3 separate regions of the Homo sapiens genome follow, and all the other regions are linked to region 3. Evidence: promoter capture Hi-C in 16 types of primary human blood cells and fetal thymus (Javierre and others, 2016). All regions are on one chromosome and are shown on one strand. The core of a region is centred on a gene start or on the middle of the fragment in contact, and the rest is flanking DNA. Distances in the headings are between cores, read along the strand shown.

Evidence for each region. Contacts are between HindIII fragments. The CHiCAGO score rates a contact against its expected background, and 5 or more counts as called.
Region 1: a contact is called between a fragment that was not itself captured here and the fragment with the promoter of GDPD4 in region 3, in 1 of 17 cell types (endothelial precursors). The highest score is 5.1, in endothelial precursors.
Region 2: a fragment that was not itself captured here is called in contact with the fragment with the promoter of GDPD4 in region 3 in 1 of 17 cell types (M2 macrophages); the score reaches 5.5 in M2 macrophages.

What each region holds. Positions count from the first base shown.
Region 1 is chr11:77,481,360-77,484,115 of GRCh38, reverse strand. It overlaps a transcript of PAK1 not described here. Among named protein-coding and RNA genes, the nearest start is that of PAK1, 8.6 kb to the right of the region's middle. The HindIII fragment of the contact is 1,878 bases long and covers 407-2,284 here.
Region 2 is chr11:77,521,455-77,524,597 of GRCh38, reverse strand. It overlaps a transcript of PAK1 not described here. Among named protein-coding and RNA genes, the nearest start is that of LINC03030, 48 kb to the left of the region's middle. The HindIII fragment of the contact is 3,525 bases long and covers 1-3,143 here.
Region 3 is chr11:77,300,401-77,303,475 of GRCh38, reverse strand. It overlaps GDPD4 (glycerophosphodiester phosphodiesterase domain containing 4), which reads left to right and starts at 1,790. Exons shown (of 17, transcript NM_182833.3): 1 at 1,790-1,871. The HindIII fragment of the contact is 12,830 bases long and covers 19-3,075 here.

The DNA of each region.
Region 1 (2,756 bases), core at 96-2,595, 180 kb before region 3:
AGTTTGCTATGGCACCCTACACTCCCATTCTACATTGCCTTTCTAATAAAGCACTTGGTACCATATGGCTGGCTCTATTTTTCATTTCCTAATTCCAAATTCCAGAGAAAGAGAGAATCTGATTGATCTAACCTGAATCAGATGCTCATCCCTGGTCCATTCAGCCAGAAGGATGGGACTTTGTGTAACGTAAAGCTCTGCCATTCTATAGGTATTGTCAAACTAAGTTCTTTAGAAAGAAATATGAAAATGGAGGCAAAAATAGACATGTCTACTTTACTAAATTTTCATCTCCACGAATTGCTGTAACCCCTTCAGTTCCATTCTTAGGATGTTATAGTTAGTTCTCATTACTCACACATTAGCACCTTCCATATGGCTAGCCATGCAATAGCATTTTTAAGCTTTATTGAGGTATAATTTACATACCAGAAAATTTGCCCAATTTAAGTGCACAGTGATTTTTAATAAATCTATGCAGTTGTGTGAAGATCACTGCAATGCAATTTTAGAACATTTCCAATACCCCACAAAGTTTCCTTGTACCTGTTTGTAGTCAATCACTGCTCTTACCCCCAAACAACAACTGATCTGTGCTCTGTCTTTATAGATTTTCCTTTTTAAAGAAATTTCATGTAAATGGAATCATTCAATATGTAGCAAAGTAGAGTTTTGATAAATGTCTGTTGATAGACTGGTGTGCTAAATTTTTAAAGAGCCCTATAATCCTCCTCACTTTCCTCATCCCATTTCCCAGCATGTCTATTCCTTTTCAGTGACTTGGTCTGAGTTTTATTTCTGTCCATGGATTACGAACATGCCGTTATCTGATGAGGTTGTTTCAACCAGCTGGTTATACTCTTTCCTACTTTCTCCACTCTTTCAGGCCACAGAGACTATTCTTTTTTTTTTTTTTTTGAGATGGAGTCTCACTCTTGTCACCAAGGCTGGAGTGCAATGGCACAATCTTGGCTCACTGCAACCTCCGCCTCTTAGGTTCAAGCGATTCTCCTGCCTCAGCCTCCTGAGTAGCTGGGATTACAGGTGCCCACCACCATGCCCAGCTAATTTTTGTATTTTTAGTAGAGACAAGGTTTCACCCTATTGGCCAGTCTGGTCTTGAACTCCTGACCTCAGGTGATCCACCTGCCTTGGCCTCCCAAAATGCTGGGATTACAGGTGATTACCTATCATTCAAGAGTGAGGGAAAAGCTGGGTGTGGTGGCTCATGCCTGTAATCTTAGCACTTTGGGAGTCTGAAGTCGGGAGGATCGCTTGTGCCTAGGAGTTCAAGACCAGCTGGGCAACAGAGGGAGATCCTGCCTTTACAAAAAGAAACACTCAAAAATTAGCTGAGCAGGGTGGCGAGTGCCTGTCATCCCAGCTACTCAGCAGGCTGAAGGCTGAGGTGGGAGGATTGCTTGAGCTCAGGAGGTCGAGGCTGCAGTGAGACGAGATCATGCCACTGCACTCCAGCCTGGGTGACAGAGTAAGACCCTGTCTCAAAAAAAAAAAAAAGAAAAAAAGAGTGAGGGAAAAATAAAATCATTTTTAGACATGCACAAAAACTAATTAAAAGGAATTCAAGAGGAATGATCAGTGAGTGTTAAAGTATATTGAAGGTTTCATCTTACTTTGGAGGAGGATGGAGACACTGATAATTTATGGAAGTTTATAGCTAAATTTATATATATCTTTTTTAAGGATAATCATTAAAAGAATAGAAAGACAATTTTTATCTTCTAAGGCATCAGTGGGGCAGAGGGAAGCCAAGAAAACGTTATCAATCCAACAGAATACAGAAAAGAACAATAAAGAAGCAAAATAGGCCGGGCGTGGTGGCTCACGCCAGTAATCCCAGCACTTTGGGAAGCTGAGGCTGGCGGATTACCTGAGGTCAGGAGTTCGAGACCAGCCTGACCAATATGATGAAACCCCATCTCTATTAAAAATACAAAAATTAACTGGGCGTGGTGGGGTGTGCCTGTAATCCCAGCTACTCAGGAGGCTGAGACAGGAGAATTGCTTGAACCCGGGAGGCGGAGCTTGCAGTGAGCCAAGATCGTGCCACTACACTCCAGCCTGGGCAACAGAGCGAGACTCCATCTCAAAAAAAAAGAAGCAAAACGGTAAAAAGAAAACATTCAAGATAATAGAAATGAACATAGCAATAATCACTATTAACAAGGAATAGATATTTATTTAGTACCTAATAAGTACAGCACTGTTCCAAGCTCTAGAGATATAGTAGCGAGTAAAACAAACTCCCCACACTCAAGAAGCTTACATTTTCCTGGAGAGACATGTTCTAATACAGGAAGACACAATATAGTGAAACAGATTAAGCTCACCTATACAAATCCAAAAACTATCATTGCATAAAAATAGAATCTAGCAATTGTGCTACTCAGAAAAGACGTAATTTTTTTTTTTTTTTTTTTTGAGATGGAGTCTCCCTCTGTCACCAGGCTGGAGTGCAGTGGCACAATCTCGGCTCACTGCAACCTCTGCCTCCCGGGTTCAAGCAATTCTCCTGCCTCAGCCTCCTGAGTACCTGGGACTACAGGCACATGCTACCACACCTGGCTAATTTTTGTATTTTTAGTAGAGATGGGGTTTCACCTTGTTGGCCAGGATGGTCTCGACCTATTGACCTCGTGATCCGCCCGCCTCGGCCTCCCAAAGTGCTGGGATTACAGGCATGAGCCACCGTGCCTGGCCTAAAGATACAATGTTAAAAGACACAAATCACCCAA
Region 2 (3,143 bases), core at 371-2,870, 220 kb before region 3:
TTCTCTCCTCCAACCCTCCCCTACACAGAGAACACAGAAGAGGGCAGGCTTGCTCAGCTTGCTCAAAGAAAGTTTCTCAAAGAAGATGGCATGTAAGATGAAACTTGAAGAATGAAACTGGTGAGGGAGAAAGGCGGTCCAGGTAGGGAAGAGAGCGAGCATGGCATGCACGTGGCATGAGGCATGCTAGGAGATGGATGAATGCAGTTGAATGGATGAAACTACCCCAGTGGAGTGCACACTCCAGGGGGCATGTTCTGGGAACTGTAAGTCCCTTCCTGTGGCTGAAATTTAAAGTATGTTGGGATGGGCAGGAGATGGAGCTGGGGAAGGAGGAAAAGTCCAGACATGAGGCAGGCATGGTTATGGGCCTTTGTCCTGATGACAATTAGAACATTAATGGATCATTTTAAACAGCAATATGCCATGATCCAACGATGTTTTATTCTTTTCTTGATAAAGGTGTATTTGAAAAATTACATAAATAATATGCGTTTATTTTGGAAGACTCATTGGGGCCTTTCTGTGGGAACAATGATTTCATTCTCCTATTTTTATTACCAGTACATTGCACATCTCTCTGTGTCTCTCTATTGCTGTAAAAGAACCTTTCTCTCTGATTGGACTTGACACACAGAAGGATCTCAGTAAAGATTTGCTGTTGTTGATGTCCACAGACACTGGCAAGGTGCAGCCAGATTACACAAGGCCGTGATCTGGTCCAAACGTGACACTGAGAAACTGGAGCTTCACCAGATTGAAAAATTTAACACTTCCATTGCCACTTCACTGTCATTATATTTTTTAAATTCTCATTTTGAAAAACTTTTTATTATGGAAAAATGCATATATATTAATGCATATTTTAAAAGTATGAAGAGGCCGGGTGTGGTGGCTTATGCCTGTAATCCCAGCACTTTGGGAGGTCAAGGCGGGAGGATCACGAGGTCAGGAGTTTGAGACCAGCCTGGCCAACATAGTGAAACCCCGTCTCTACTAAAAATACAAAAATTAGCCAGACATGGTGGCGTGTGCCTGTAGTCCCAGCTACTCGGGAGGCTGAGGCAGGAAAATCGCTTGAATCTGGGAGGTGGAGGTTGTGGTGAGCTGAGATCGCGTCACTGCACTCCAGCCTAGGCAACAGAGTGAGGCTTTGTCTCAAAAAAAAAAAAAAAAAGTAGAAAGCATAGAATGATAAACCCTCATGTGCCCATCATCCAGCTTCAATAATTAACAACTCTTAGCCAAAAATTGTTTTATTTATATCCTTCCCTCTCCTTGACCACTGCATTATTTTGACATAAATCTGAGATATTATATATTTTAGTATGTATCTCTTAAGGATAAGAACCTTTTAAAAAATTTTTCAACTATTATTTTAGATTCAGGGGTACATGTGCACGTTTATTCCATGGATATATTGCGTGATGCTGAGGTTTGGGGTATAACTGACCCCATCACCCAGGTAGTGAGCATAGTACCCAACAAGTAGTTTTTCCACCCTTGCCCCTTTCCCTCTCTCAGCTGTCTAGTAGCCTGAAGTGTCTATTGTTCCCATCTTTATGTCCATGTGTACCCAGTGTTTCGCTCCCACTTGTAAGTGAGAACATGTGGTGTTTGACTTTCCATTCTGCATTAATTGGCTTAGGATAATGGCCTCCAGCTCCATGTGTGCTGCTGCAGAGAACATGATTTTGTAATTTTTTATGGCTGTGTCATATTCCATAGTGTATATGTATGGCATTTTCTTTATCTAATCCACCATTGATGGGCACCTAGGTTGATTTCATGTCTTTGCTATTGTGGACAGTGCTATGATGAACATATGAGTGCATGTGTTTTTTTGGTAGAATAATTAATTTTCCTTTGGATATATGTCCAGTGATAGGATTTCTGGGTCAAATGAGAGTTCTATTTTTAGTTCTTTGAGAAATCTCCAAATTGTTTTCCACAGTGGCTGAATAAATTTACATTCCCACTAACACAGTGTATAAGCATTTCCTTTTCTCTGCAGCCTCAACATCTTTTATTTTTTGACTTTTTGGTAATAGCCATTCTGACTGGTGTGAGATGGTATCTCATTGTGGTTTTGATCTGCATTTCTCCAATGATTAGTGATGTTCACAACAGGATGCAATTGGAGAAACTGGTTGTCTTACTAAGGCTTTGACTGGAAGGGTATGTGCTTCCCTTTAAGGAGTCAAGCTCAACTTGCAGAACTAAGAAAAGCTCCTTGGGAAACCTGATCTCACACCCTTGTCTACACAGTCCCCATGCAGGATTCCTAACCTGTGGTGAGTAAAGAATGTTACTTTCCAGCAGGCCCAGGAACCACATGTTCTTGGGACCTCAAGAAAAGAGAAGTTTATTCAACTTGCAGGTATTTGAGGATACAAACCCATCGCTGGCCTGGCTTTAAAAGGTCTTATCTGAGATTCCTTGTGGAACAGAGTTCCATTAAAGCCAATCTAAAAGGTCTATGTAGAAATAATTATTCTTGCTGCACTTTATGCAAATAATCTGACCAAGTATAAGACTAAAGTCTATTTTGCAAACAATGCAATCCTATCATAATTTGTTTTTAATGAAAATGAGGACTAGAGAGTGAAATTATGTTTCAAATCTCATCGTCATTAGATTCTAGACTCATTAGGTGTTTTTAAGTTTTTGCCTACATTTTCGGCTAACCCTGCTTATTCCTGTGAACCATCCAGCAATCTCTGGCTGCAGCTCAGAAAGAACAAAAGGGATGGGTAATGTAGAAATCCGGATCAATATTCTAGTTCTGAGCAATTATCCTGCAAATCCTGCCAGGTGATGGGAATAAATAGGATGCCCTGGAGGTTTCCTTTTTGGGAAAGTAAGATCAAGGGAGCTAACCAAGCCAAGCCCCATGCACCCAAATCTTGGCAAGCATAACTATCACCACTAGCTATCTGGGTGTGTCACAAGACATCCTTTTCTTTCCCTTGTTGGAGGAGGACTCAATTCCACAGCTGCACCTTAACATTCGGTTTATGATAAGGAGTACATGCACCACCCGCCTCCTGACACATTTTTTTTTTTTTGAGGTGGAGTTTCGGTTTTGTTGCCCAGGCTGGAGTGCAATGGCACGATCTTGGCTCACAGCAACCTCCACCTCC
Region 3 (3,075 bases), core at 541-3,040:
GTTTGCTTTGCTGAAGCTTCAATGTAAGTGGTGATGGAGGAGAGTTGGGGGCAAGTTGAGGCTGGAGAGAAAGGTGAGATCCAATTTAAGGAGCTTTAATTTTTGGAATGTGTTTTAGGCATAGTCAGATTTGCATTTTTAAAAGATCAACAGTTGGTCTTAGATTTTGGGAGAGGTAAACTGGAAACAGTGAGGCGCTTTGGGAGTCTGCTGCAGTCTACCTTAACGTAGCGGTATTAAGCTGGGTTGGCATGTACTGAGATGATTAGGGCCTAGTGGGCATTGAAATGCAATAAGATAATGACTAGGCGAAATAGGAAGTATCCTAATAAGCAGAATTTGGTCACTCTGTGTAAGGTGGAGGGTTGGGGGGTTGCAAAGGAATAGGAGGAGTTGAGGATGAGACATCTGTTTCACATCTTGTCATTTAGTGATTTAGAGCCATAGAAGATGGAGCAGACATGAAGGGAAAGATAATGAATTTAAGTTAGGGTTTACTGAGTTTGAGGTGTCTGCAGCAGGACGGCCAGATTGAAGGCCAGTGGCTGGCAGTTGGAGATAAAGGTCTAGAGCTCAGGAACGAGGTCAGAGTCAGAGAAATGGCTAGAGGAATCAAAGATTAAACAAACAAAAGCGAAAACAGGCCCATTTGTGGCCCTTTGAGTGGTTGAAACTGGTTTAAAAAAGGTAAGGCAAAGTGGGGATGGTTACTGGGTACAACAGATATATAGTTAGAATAAATAGGATCTAATATTTGACAGCACAACAAGGCGACTACAGTCAGCAATTATTTATTGAACATTTTTAAAAATAACTAAGAGTGTAACTGGAACGTTCATAACCCAAAGAAATGATAAATGCTTAGGTGATGGATACTCAGTGTACCTGATGTGATTCTTTTTTTTTTTTAGATGGAGTTTCACTCTTGTTGCCCAGGTTGGAGTGCAGTGGTGCTATCTCGGCTCACTACAACCTCTGCCTCCCAGGTTCAAGTGATTCTCCTGCCTCAGCCTCCTGAGTAGCTGGGATTACAGGAATCCACCACTGTGCCCGGCTAATTTTTTTGTATTTTAGTAGAGACAGGGTTTCATCATGTTGGCCTGGCTGGTCTCGAACTCCTGACCTCAGGTGATCCACCTGCCTCGGCCTCCCAAACTGCTGGGATTACAGGCGTGAGCCACTGTGCCTGGCCTCCTGATGTGATTCTTACACATTGTATACCTTTATCAGAATATCTCATGTATTCCTACTATGAGTTGTATAAATAATACACTTATTATGTACCCATAAAAATTAAAAATTTGTTTTAAAAAGGCAGAAAAAATAGTTAAAAATAAAATAAAATAAAGAGGTAGCCTGGGCGTGGTGGCTGGGGGGCACAGGGCTGTAGTCCCAGCTACTCTTCAGGCTGAGGCAGGAGGCTGCTTGAGCCCAAGTTTGAGGCCCAGACTGGGCGACAAGACCCCGTCTCTTAAAAAATATATAAATATATAGATAGATGTATATATATATATGGCAATTTTATGAATAACTGGGATACAAAAAATTGGTAATGCTTGAACTAAGTTATTAACAAGGACTAAACTTAAACAGTCAAGTTCTTTTTGTAAGAACCAAACCAAACCAAAAACAAAGAGAGCATACCTTACCGGACATTTAAAAGGTGGGGCTCTGAGCCAAGGCTGGGGGTCTGGCCTTAGCTTCAGCCTTGCTCTGGCACGGGGTGTCCTTGACCACGCCCACAGCCCCGCCAGGCCGCCCCCTCCCGCCCCGCCTCCCTCGGGCTGCCCTTCCAGCCAGGCGTCCATCTTAAGAGACGCTGGTCTCCTCAGGCGTGAAGATTGGATTTGGGTTGGGACTGGGAAGTCTCGGTAAGTAAATGTGCCCAGTTCCGTGCTTCCTCCCTAAGCAGCACCAGAAGCAGGAAGTTCTATTAGTATTATTAGTCGGCGGCCAAACTTGAGGCCCTTTGACGTTGTTCGCTCACTCTGTCGGGTCGTTTGTGTCCCCTCTCGAGGATTACGGGCCTGGACCTCCTGTTCAGTATCTGACAGTAGCGGCTTCGTGTATTTTCTAGTTTTCTAGTTGTTAATGGCGAAGGGGATAAAAATCAGCTTCGACTATGCCAATCCTGGGCGGCAACCCTTGGGTTTTGATCTCATGAGCTGGGGAATGGCGGTGACCTTTACTGAGATGGGACAGATTGCAGGAGGAATCGATTTTAGAGGGAAAAAACATCAGGGGTTCAGTTTTGGACATATTACTTTTGAGGTGCCTGTGAGAAATCCAAATGGAGATTTCAGTAGCCTGTCGGATATATGAGTGTAGAATTCAGAGAAGAGCTCTGGGAAGGAAACAGTGTTTCTCGATCTCCCCTTAAATATTAGGAATTTTCATGTAAACGTGGCTACGCTGGCTGGTGCTTAGACACAAAGTATCTGCAGGTGTGTAGACAATGGTGGTGGTAATTATTCTGGTTAAAAAGCTGCCTTTTATTCGATATCCAAGCAGCTTACCATCCTCCCATAGAGCTTTTTGTTCATAACGTCTGCCCTTGGACACCCCAGTATTTGCAATTAGTCACACCAAGTTCTATATATATGCAGTAGTTTCATCATTAACCAACTGAAAGTTTTTTTCTCATTTCCATTGTGATTTTTCTTTGACCATGCGTAGGTTTCTGTGTGTTTAATTCCCAAATGTGCAATTTGTTTTTCTTACTGATTTCCAGTTAAATTGCACTGTAGTCAGAAGATATATTCTTAAGATGTCAAGGTTTATTAAAACCAATTGTGATTTTTGATAAATATTCCATGTCCATTTTAAAGTACACTCTGCATTTGTTGAGTACAGTGTTCTATAAATGTTAAGACTAGTTAATCAACTTTTACAGTCGTCTATATCCTTACAGACTTTTTTTCTGCTTATTCTGTTTTTTTTTTAAGAGGTGTGTTAAATCTCCTACCATGATTATGCATTTGTCCATTTCTCCCTTAGAGACTAGGTGATTGGGTACTGTTATAGTTTCGGTGCCGCAAAAGAAATAGCACTCAAATATAAAATTTTCTTTTTAAT